Linked DNA regions of Homo sapiens: region 2 is linked to region 1. The links are contacts of gene promoters, found by promoter capture Hi-C in human tissues and cell types (Jung and others, 2019). All regions are on one chromosome and are shown on one strand. Each heading gives the region's core, a stretch centred on a gene start or on the middle of the fragment in contact. The rest is flanking DNA. Distances are from core to core; before and after follow the strand shown.

Region 1 (5,891 bases), core at 2,835-5,334:
TTTTCTAGTGATATAGCATGCCTTGCTATGTCATCTTCTATTATTTAGAAAGACAAGTGTTATCCTCCTCACTTAAGTCATCACTGAAACCCAAGCTCCAGTTTCCTGGAAGTTTTAAGCTCAGAAAAGAAGCCTAGACACAAGAGGGCATGCAAAATACAGGTTAGTGTTTGCCCCAGGAGAAGGAAGAATGGGACCAGAGGGGCACAAAAAAGACTTTAAATGTAGCGATGTTGGTTTTGTTTTGTTTTGTTTTTAGAGGAAAGGGAAATATCTCAAATGTTAACATTTGTTAGTTCTGGAATACAATGATGTTTGTTGTACTGTTCTCTGGACTTTCTTGTAGCATTTTAAGATTTTCAGAATTAAAATACACACATACACACACACTTGTTTATTAGCACCACTTCAAACACCCTTTTTATTAAACGTTAATTACAAATATTTCATTATCCCTCACTTGACTTTTCCACCAAAGCTCACTTATAGAATACATGATCTATAATTACATCTACCCTGGGACTCTGCAAAAGAACACAAGCACCAGAACAAAAGAAATGAATCACTGATAACAAAATGACACTCTAAAATTAAGACCACAAGGTTGTGGGGCATCTGAAAAAGGAAAAGAGCAGCTTTACATTCACTTCACAAAGAATGCAGAGGATGCTGACTCTGAATATTGCCAAACAGATGGACCTACACCAACAGCACCACGCTTCTAAGCCTCCCAAACCAAGCAGCCACTCCGCAGGTCATAGGAGGAGGAGACTCAATTCATATATAAATCAAAATTCATGAAGCATAAGTGAAACATTAAAGCCAATAACTTCAAATCCTAAAAATGCTATTTCCACCCCACAGTTGGTAACGCCCAAAACATGCACAATAAGCATAAGACTGAACAATAGAAACCTGGAAAACCGTTCAGTACACTTAAATGCCCATCACAGTGATTCATGATAAACTCTCATCAAGGCTACTTATTGCCATAAATAAATACCCTACCTATACTTATTCCCTCAACCACCAGCTTCCCAGTTACATCTATAACATACTCAAATAAATCTTTTCTTTTTTTTCCCCCCACCAAAAACAGGAGTTTTGTCACCCAGGCTAGAGCACAGTGGTGAGAGCACGGCTCACTGCTGCCTCGACCTCCCGGACTCAAGTGATCCTCCCTCCTCAGGCTCCCGAGTAGCTAGGACTACTGGCATGCACCACCATGCCTGGCTAATTTTTAAAATTTTTTTGTAGAGATGGGGTGTCACTATGTTGCCCAATCTGGTCTCAAACAGCTGGGTTCAAGTGATTCCCCCCCACCTCGGCCTCCCAACGTGTTGGGATTACAGGCATGGACCACTGTGTTCAGCCTCAAAGCAATCTTTATTTGTATTCACACTATTATCAGTTCCCTTCTCTTAATCTTCTCTCCAGCCAGCCAATCTTTACCTCTTCGCTTCTTCCAAATGACAAAGGTACTCATAAGCCACGTTCTGACGTCTCCTTTCATCCATCTCCTCTGCAGTAAGTCTTTCATTATCCAGGACAGCTACAACATAAAAGAAAGAATGTAAACACCAGGATCTGTAGCCTTCCTGAGTGATAAAAGATTGCCACAGAATCAATTTCCTGCCACTCACCTAGAAAGTCAGGATAACTAATGAGTGTGTAGCCAGCCAGGTGTACTACAATGACTTTCTTAAAAAAAGAACTATGTGGTTTCAACTATAATCATCTTGACCTTTTTAAAAATGTATGATAATATAAATATGTACTAAGTTTCAGTGTAATCTTGAAAAATACTGTCTTGAGATTTTGGCACAAATCTGTCCCTATCTGCCAGAACTCCTTCTAAATACAGATCTGATAATATTGTTTCCCTCTTTTATTAATGACCAAAGCCAGCAGTTATTGAGACATAAGTGGCAGTAATTGTACGAAGCATTTTACACGCATTCTCTCATTGAAACCCCACAACAATCCTGTGATTATCACTCCTATTTTACAGACGAAGAAACTGAGGCTGGGTGAACTCAGCCCCATGGCAAATAAGTGACAGGGCCTGAATCCAAACCTGGAGAGTCTGTCTCCAAAGCCTGAGCTTAACCTTGAAGCAATCTGCTTCCTTCATGGGCACCAGGTGTGGAATAAATTCCTAACTCCTTGGGAAGGCATTCAAGGCCTTTCCCAGTCTGGTCCCAACTATTTTTGGAAACTCTCCTCTTCCCTTCCTCCCACCACTGTGCAGTCTACATCACTCAGTTCCCAACACAGTATCCCTCTACTTTCAATACCTTTGTTTATGCTCTTCCCTCAGGTCCTGTCTCTTGTTCCACATGCCCTATCAAACTTTTTTTTTTTTTTTTTTGAGACAGGGTCTTGTTCTGTCACTCCGGCTCGAGTGCAGTGGCACAATCATGGCTTACTGCAGCCTCGACTTTCTGGGCTCAAATGATCCTCCTACCTCAGCCCCAAGCAGCTGGGACCACAGGCATGGGCCACCACGCCTGGCTAATTTTTTTTTTTTTTTTTAAGAGATGGAGTCTCACTGTGCTGCCCAGGCTGGTCTCAAACTCAAGGCCTCAAACTATCCTCTCACCTCGGACTCCCAAAGTGCTGGGATTACACGCAGGAGTCACTATGCCTGGCCACCTGTCAAACTTTCTACACAGCATTCTTCAAGGCTCTGTTCAAATGTCACCTTCAGGCCAGGTGCAGTGGCTCACACTTTGGGAGGTCGAGGCGTGGGGATCATTTGAGATCAGGAGTTTGAGACCAGCCTGACCAACACAGTGAAACCCTGTCTCTACTAAAAATACAAAAATTAGCCAGTGTGGTGGCCGACGCCTGTACTCGGGAGACTGCAGGAGAATCGCTTGAACCTGGGAGGTGGAGTTTGCAGTGAGCTGAGATTGCACCACTGAACTCCAGGCTGGGCGACCAGAGCAAGACCCCCTGTCTCCAAAAAAAAAAAAAAAAAAGTCACCTCCCGTGCTCATACTGTCTTCCCCAGGCCCCTTCTCCTTACCTACATTACTCTGTATGGCTAGTAAGTTCAGCATCTTTTATCATTATTGCACCTTATAATCATTAGCTTGCACACCTGACTCTCTGATTAAAACGCTCTTTGGAGACAGGGCCTGATCTTACTCATCTTTAATTTCACAAACGTGGCACAATACCTCACGTATAACTGTTGATGCGTGAAATGTTGATCCTTTAAAAAAGAACATTATTCCCACAATATAAAATAAAACCGAAAACCTCAAAATCCCAAAGGGTCCTCCTTTAGCCAATCCTGCCTGCAGTTCAATGACGTCCAGGGCCGACAACAGAAAATGAGGAAGTCAGAGGATTTTCTGCTTCTTTTTTTTTTCTTTATTACTATTTTACTTTTGAAATCTTGAGGAGGGAACTAAGCCCGAGAAAACTGAAGTGACTTGCCCAGGACGGCACCTCGTAGCTAGCCTGGGACCGGACAGGTCTGGACCCTGGTCTATCCCTTGGGTCTACCCCGCAGGCAACACTAGGGCAGCGCCTTTCCACGAAACGGGCAGAGCCCGCGTACCCAGACCCCCAATCCCCGGGACACGCCCTGCGCGGTCATCCTGCCACCTCACTCTAGGCCGTCTTCCCCAATCTCGGCCGAGCCTGGGCGGCGAGAGGCGCTGGGTGGGGCTCCCCCTACCGCGGCCCCAGCTAAGGCGGGAGGCCTCGGGGGTCCTCTCCGCCGCCTCGGACCCCGAGGGGGCGCGAACCAGGGGCCTCCCCGCCCGCCGCCCGCCGCCCCACCGGGACGGCTCTTCCGGGTCCGAGCTGCCGGCAGCCGCCCTGCCCCACCCGCCCGGCCGAGCCCCCAGGAAAATCGCGCCTCGTCTGCAATTAGCCCAGCCCGAAGCCCCCGCGCCGCGGAGCCCCGCACTCACAGCCATAGTGCGGCCGGGCCACGCCCAGCCCGTCAACCTCGTCTGCGGCGGACATGGCGGACGAGCCCGAGTCTCTGCTGAGGAAGCCGTGAAACCTTGGAGGCGCGGACGGCGGTAGCTACAGCTCCTGCCAAGTGCGCGGGCTTGCCGGGGTCCCCGAGGCCCCGCCCCGTGCCGTCAGCCCCACCCCGCAGGCCCCGCCCCAGCGGCACCGCCCCAGCGACACCGCCCTGAGCGGCCGGAAAGAGGCGGGGCCAGAGTCACCGTGCCCCGCCCCTAACTCCGCCCCCTCAGCCCGGCCCCGCCCTGCATCCCGCTATGGTCTCCGTAGGCGGAAGGAAGAAGGTAGAGCCCATCCTCCAATCGGGCTCACGCTGAGCTTGCCCTGCCGGGAATGCCCGCCCAGGTTTATAGCCCCGCCCCCAAGGCCACTGCCCTATCCGCAACTCTAACCGAAAGGCTGCCGGTGTCTGCTGCCTGAAATCAAAATAGTGGGTCATCTCCCTTCTCTTGCCGGCCCAGCTAACCTCTGCACCAATATTTGGAGAAGACACCCTTTGAGGTGACCCAGGTTGTCTTGTTGGACACAAGCAGGCCCCAAACTGCCATGAAAGCCCTCCAACCCCACTCTCCGCAGTTTGGCAACCTGGCCTCAGTCCTCTTAGATTCGGCAGCAGTCACCAGATTACCCAGGTACCCAGGTATTTGAGATGCGGATGCTAAAGCCGAACTCTGTCCAAATTCCCTACCTTTGGATCCCTTGACATTGTTCTTTGCAAGTTCTTTTTAAAATAACTCTTTTCCCGTATCAGGGATGCCTCTGCCCCCTGCACCTTGTGGCTTGCCCTTCAGATATTGGTATTCAACGGTATTCTGTCCGCAGCCCTCTTCTGTTTATTCTTTTTTCTTTTCTTTCTTTCTTTTTTTTTATTTTCTTTTTTTTTTGAGACGGAGTCTCGCTCTGTCGCCCAGGCTGGAGTGCAGTGGCGCGATCCGGGCTCACTGCAAGCTCCGCCTCCCGGGTTCGCGCCATTCTCCTGCCTCAGCCTCCCGAGTAGCTGAGTCTACAGGCACCCGCCACCGCGCCCGGCTAAGTTTTTGTATTTTTAGTAGAGACGGGGTTTCACCGTGTTAGCCAGGATGGTCTCGATCTCCTGACCTCGTGATCCACCCGCCTCGGCCTCCCACAGTGCTGGGATTACAGGCGTGAGCCACCGCGCCCGGCATTTTTTTTTTTTTTTTTTTTTTGAGACGGAGTTTTGCTCAGTCGTTCAGGCTGGAGTGCAGTGGCGCGATCTCGGCTCACTGCAACCTCCGCCTCCCGGGTTCAAGCGACTCTCCCGCCTCAGCCTCCCAAGTAGCTGGGATTATAGGTGCCCGCCACCACGCCCAACTACTTTTTTTGTATTTTTAGTAGAGGCAGGGTTTCACCATGTTGATCAGGCTGGTCTCGAACTCCTGACCTCAGGTAATCCACCCGCTTCTGCTTCCCAAAGTGCTGAGATTACAGGTGTGAGCCACCGCGCCCGGCCCTCTTCCGTTTATTCTTTGCCTACTCAGTAATCTTTTCTACACTCGCCTATAACTGCTGAGGACCCCTCGATATGTATCACCAGACCAGATCGTCTGGAAGTCCCTCAGTATTTTCAGCTAATGAACACTTTCACCTGTGTATAGGGCAGACACTTCAAATCCCACGTGTCAAATACTGACCCTGCTCCTGCTATATTCTCTATTCACAGAAGTACTCAATTCCCAGTGGGAACACCCCAGGCTCCTTGCCTCGCACCCTACATCCAATCTGTGTTTATTTCTGAGATGTCTACTTTTGTCTCCATCCCTGTTGTGATTACACTGTAGTCGCCCTTCTGCCAACTAGATCCTCACAGTTATCAGGGTGTTCTCTCTAAAGTGCAAATGCAATTGTGTTTCTCTTTTTAAATTTTTTTTTCTATTCCTCCC
Region 2 (5,138 bases), core at 2,639-5,138, 150 kb after region 1:
GATGAAGGAGTGGTGGCGGTGATAATCTCTGTTGAGAGCTGGACCCAAGACTTTATGTATTTATTTATTTTGAGACTGAGTCTCGCACTATCGCCCAGGCTGGAGTACAGTCGTGCAATCTCAGCTCACTGCAACCTCCGCCTCCTGGGTTCAAGTGATTCTCCTGCCTCAGCCTCCCAAGTAGATGGGATTACAGGTGGCCGCCACAACGCCTAATTTTTGTATTTTTAGTAGAGATGGGGTTTCACCATGTTGGCCAGGCTGGTCTCGAACTCCTGACAAGTGATTTGCCTGCCTCGGCTTCCCAAAGTGCTAGGATTAAAGGTGTGAGCCAACGTGCCCAGCCAACCCAAGACTTCTTTTACTTTTGCTGTATAACATTCAAGGGAGCTAAAAGGAAAATGAGATTTCACACCCACATACTCTCTTAGAATAGTGTCTACTGACTAGTTCCTCTGGAACCAGTGTGAAATGTCTGGAGAAACAGGACAGAACAAAGCAATGAGATAAAAAAAAATTTCCCACATTGACTCAGATGCAGACGGAGGAACAACGACTTAGCTTTGGATTTTGTGTCTACATCAAGAGGAGCTTCTAAAGTGCTTGGGAAAGACCCCAAGAGGGATGGCTGAGGCTCAGGGAGGGCAAACTGTTAAGGACAGTGCTACCCACCATGGGAACCACTGACTGGAGAGGCGGTCACAAGCACACATTGTCCCAGCTCATCTTCTGGTACCTGCCTGTGCTGCAGTCCCGACTCCAGCTGCCTGACCTTGAACAAAGTACAAACTGTCAGTCTCCATCCCGTTTTGAATGGGGGTATTAAGAAGACTCAGGCTGAATTGCTTGAACCCAGGAGGCAGAGACGCAGTGAGCCGAGATCACACCACTGCACTCCAGCCTGGGCAACAGAGTGAAACTCTGATTCAAGAAAAAAAAAAAAAAACTCAGGCCAGGTGCAGTGGCTCATGCCTATAATCTCAGCACTTTGGGAGGCTGAGGTGGGAGGATCTTGAGGCCAGGAGTTCGAGACCAGCCTGGGCAACTTGGCAAGATGCTATCTCTCCAAAAAAATAGCCGGGTGTGGTGGCGCATGCCTGTGGTCCCAGCTACTAGGGAGGCTGAGATGGGAGTATTGTTTGAGCCCAGGAGGTTGAAGCTTGCAGTTAGCTGTCTTCATACCACTGCACTCCAGCCTGGGTGACAGTGACCCTGTGTCAAAAAAAAAAAAAAAAAAAAAAAAAAAAAACCTGCACCAAGGTGTGGTGGCATCTTAGCACTCTGGGAGGCCGAGGTGGGAGGATTTCTTAAGGCCAGGAGTTTGACAGCAACCCGGGCAACATAGCAAGACCCTATCTCTACAAAAAATTTAAAAATTAGCCAGGTGTGATGGTGCACACCTATCGTCCCAGCTACTCAGGGGGCTGAGGTGGGAGGGTGGCTTGAGACCAAGAGTTTGGGTCTGCAGTGAGCTGTGATTGCACCACTGCACCCCAGCCTTACAAAAAAACAAAACAAAAAAAGACGTGCACCCGGAAAGTTGTGACAACACTGTGTTTTTACATCAGATGATGTCAGTGAAGAGCATTCAACTTGGTGTTGGGGGCTAGAGGAAAGCTCAAGGTGGCAGGGAAAGTGAAGGAGTGGGGCATTTGGGTGGAGCAGGGCTAAATGGAAAGAAGGGACAAAGCAATAAAAATAAGTGGTGAGCAAAGGGGAATAAACAGGCTGAGAACAGAAGTGGCAGCTCAATACTGGAGGCACAGGCACTATTACCGTGCTAACATTTGATATCAAAGGAAGACAAAATCTAAATGTAAAGTCAGGAGTGTGTAACTGTCACACACACTCCTTTTTAACACCCCTGGGGCTTGAACAAGAACGGGGAGAGGTAGCAGATACATTCATGATGTCTTACTCAGTAGAATTATTCCAGATTTTCTCCCCTTTAAAGAGACCACTATCAGCTCCCCTTTAAAGAGACCATTATCTTTCTCCCCTTTAAGAGATCATTATCAGCTTTCTTCATCCTTCTTCTTAGGCTGAGACAGGTGAGAAGGCAGCCATGAAAATAAATGTCCAAAGGACTATGATGGACAGTGCTCTGGAAAGGGACTCATCAGGTAGAAAATGAATACATCCTGGCTGGGTGTGGTGGCTCACGCCTGTAATCCCAGCACTTTGGGAGGCCGAGGCGGGCGGATCACCTAAAGTCAGGAGTTCAAGACCAGCCTAGCCAATGTGGTGAAACCCCTTCTCTTTTAAAAATACAAAAAAATTAGCCGGGTTTGGTGGCAGGAGCCTGTATAGTCCCAGCTACTCGGGAGGCTGAGCCAGGAGGATCACTCGAACCCTAGAGGTGGAGGTTGCAGTGAGCCGAGATTGTACCAGTGCACCCCAACCTAGGTGACAGAGCGAGACTATCTCAAAAAAAAAAAAAAAAAAAAAAAAAAAAAAAGAAACAGAAAAGAATCCAGGGGCTCACTCCTGTCATCTCAGTACTTTGGGAGGCCGAGGTGGGAGGACTGCTTCAGCCCAAGAGTTCAAGACCAGCCTGGGCAACATGGTGAAACGCTGTCTATATAAAAAAATACAAAATCACCTAATCGTTAAAAAAAAAAAAAAAAAAAAAAAAAGCCAGGTGTGTGGTGGTGCACGCCTATAGTCTCAGCTACTCAAGAGGCTGAGGTGGGAGGATCACTTCAGCCCCAGAGGTGGAGGCTACAGTGAGCCAGGATCATACCACTACACTCTAGCCTGGGGACAGAGTGAGACCCTATCTCAAAAGAAAAGAAAAAAAGAACATAAATACATCCAGAAGTATTATTGCTCTTCCTGGGACATCAGGGCCACCAGTGCTGCCTGTACGTCTTCTGCCTGGGATGGGGGCAGCCGACAGTCCTGAATGAGGGCCACAGCAGCTGCCTCTGTCAGGCTGCTGAAGTCCTGGGATGTTTTGACAGGGAGGTGCCCAGCCAGCTCACAGAGGGCAACATTGAAAGCTTCACCGTCCTTTATCCCAAAGCTGGACTTCCGGGCCCACAGAATTACTCGGACCCCTGTGAGGGCTGAGGAAGGTGATGTCTTTCCCGGCGGAGCTCCCCGGGTGACAAACAAGTTATGAGCAATCTCATGGTCAGTCAGATAATCAGTGGCCCGACATACCCTGCTTATCAAGGACTCCAAGTCAGGCCCTGGCCCACGAGTGTAAAAGAGGAAGCCAGGAGCTGGGAGGTCCTGGAGCAGATGCAAATGGCCTCCAGGGTCCAGGGGCTCGCTTGGCGCCTGCTCCACGGGCAGTCTGTGGGCCAGGTAATAGCCATGCAGGTGGAGGTGGTTCACCGAGGCCAAGCCTCCCAGGCTGTTGAAGCCGACACGGAAGCCCGGGTGTAAGCTCAGCAGCACAGCCTCAATCCCTGCCCTCAGTGCACCCGGCAGCAGGCGCTGGGGGAGCTGGCGGGCAGGCTCAGGCACCAGCAGCACGTGGCCCCACTCCAGGGGGCTGACGTTGATCACCACCAGGATGTCTTCTTGCAGCAGAGTCCCAGGGAGATCAGGCTCCCGGTGCAAACGGAAGAGGACTTCTCCGGGCCGGATCTTGTTGAAGTTGAACTGTACAGGGTCAAATGCCTGCCTCACACTCTTGATGGTCTGCGGGGGCCTCCTCTGCACACCACGCTCCACATTCAGCTGAGCCACGAAACCCACAGCACCAGGGAGGATTTGGGTCTGTAGCTCCCGTAGACGGTAGCGAAACAGCCCCAGCTCCACCCGCTGCTTCCAGGCAGAGCAGAGTGCAGCATCAAAGGGAGATTGTGGCAGAGCATCTGGGATGCCAGGTGCATTCCTTGGCCACTGAATCCCTTCTGCCATGAGATCCTTCTGCCCATAAACAAAGTCAGGAATGGTTTGCCTGCCCCAGTCCTCATTGTTGGGAGGCAGCAAATAGGAAGTTTCGTTTGAATCATGTGGAAGAGCCATAGAGCTGACCTGAAATAGTCATAAAAGATGAAAACACATGATGGTAACCCACCTCCAGAGATTGTCATTGTATTTATTTATTTATTTTTTTTTTTGAGATGGAGTCTCACTCTGTCACCCAGGCTGGAGTGCAGTGGCAGTGATCTTGGTTCACTGTAACCTCCGCCTCCTGGGTTCAAGCGGTTCTCCCGCCTCAGCCTCCTGGGCAGCTGGGGTTACAGGCAGGCACCACCATGCCCGGGTAATTTTTGTATTTTTAGTAGAGATGGTGTTTCACCATGTTGGCCAGGCTGGTCTTGAACTCCTGACATCGGGTGATCCCTTTGCCTTGGCCTCCCAAAGTGCTGGGATTACAGGCATGAACCAACATGCACAGCTTATTTATTTATTTTTATTTTTTTGAGACAGAGTCTCACTCTGTTGCCCAGGCTAGAGGGCAGTGGCGCGATCTTGGCTCACTGCAACCTCCACCTCCTGGGTTCAAGTGATTCTCATGCCTCAGCCTCCCAAGCAGCTGGAATTACAGGCACCCGCCACCAGGCCCGGCTAATTTTTGTATTTTTAGTAGAGGCAGGGTTTCACCACATTGGCCAGGCCGGTCTTGAACTCCTGACCTCCGGTGACCCTCCCCTCTCGGCTTCCCAAAGTGCTGGGATTACAGGCCTGAGCCACTGCACCTGGCCTATTTATTTATTTATCACTCTGTCACCCAGGCTGGAGTGCAATGGCGCTATCTTGGCTCACTGCAACCTCTACCTCCCAGGTTCAAGCGATTCTCTGGCCTCAGCCTCCCAAGTAGCTGGGATTATAGGAATGTGCCACCACAGCCAGCTAATTTTGTATTTTTGGTAGAGACAGGGTTTCACCATGTTGGTCTGGCTGGTCTTGAACTCCTGACCTCAGGTGATCCACCCACCTCGGCTTCCCAAAGTGCTGGGATTACAGGTGTGAGCCACTGCGCCCAGCCACGGCCTATTTTATTTTGAAACAGGTTCTCACTCTGTCACCCAGGCAGGAGTGCAGTGGTGCATACATGTCTCCCTGAAGCCTTGACCTCCCAGGCTCAAGGGATTCTTTCACCTCAGCATCCCAAGTATCTGGAACTACAGGCATGTGCCACCAGGCACTGCCGAGATCGCACCATTGCAGTCCAGCCT

What was found. Contacts are between HindIII fragments. The study calls those that stand out against the background at their distance.
Region 2: a fragment that was not itself captured here is called in contact with the fragment with the promoter of IQGAP1 in region 1 in 1 of the 25 tissues and cell types used here (dorsolateral prefrontal cortex).

What each region holds. Positions count from the first base shown.
Region 1 is chr15:90,386,435-90,392,325 of GRCh38, reverse strand. IQGAP1 (IQ motif containing GTPase activating protein 1) reads right to left here and starts at 4,084. Exons shown (of 38, transcript NM_003870.4): 1 at 3,930-4,084; 2 at 1,453-1,552. The coding sequence starts at 3,984. RefSeq lists a silencer at 3,581-4,360. The HindIII fragment of the contact is 9,768 bases long and covers 1-5,891 here.
Region 2 is chr15:90,239,752-90,244,889 of GRCh38, reverse strand. It overlaps GDPGP1 (GDP-D-glucose phosphorylase 1), which reads right to left. Exons shown (of 4, transcript NM_001013657.3): 4 at 1-3,990. The coding sequence starts at 3,981. The coding sequence ends at 2,824. It also overlaps a transcript of CIB1 not described here. Among named protein-coding and RNA genes, the nearest start is that of TTLL13, 7.2 kb to the left of the region's middle. The HindIII fragment of the contact is 7,306 bases long and covers 236-5,138 here.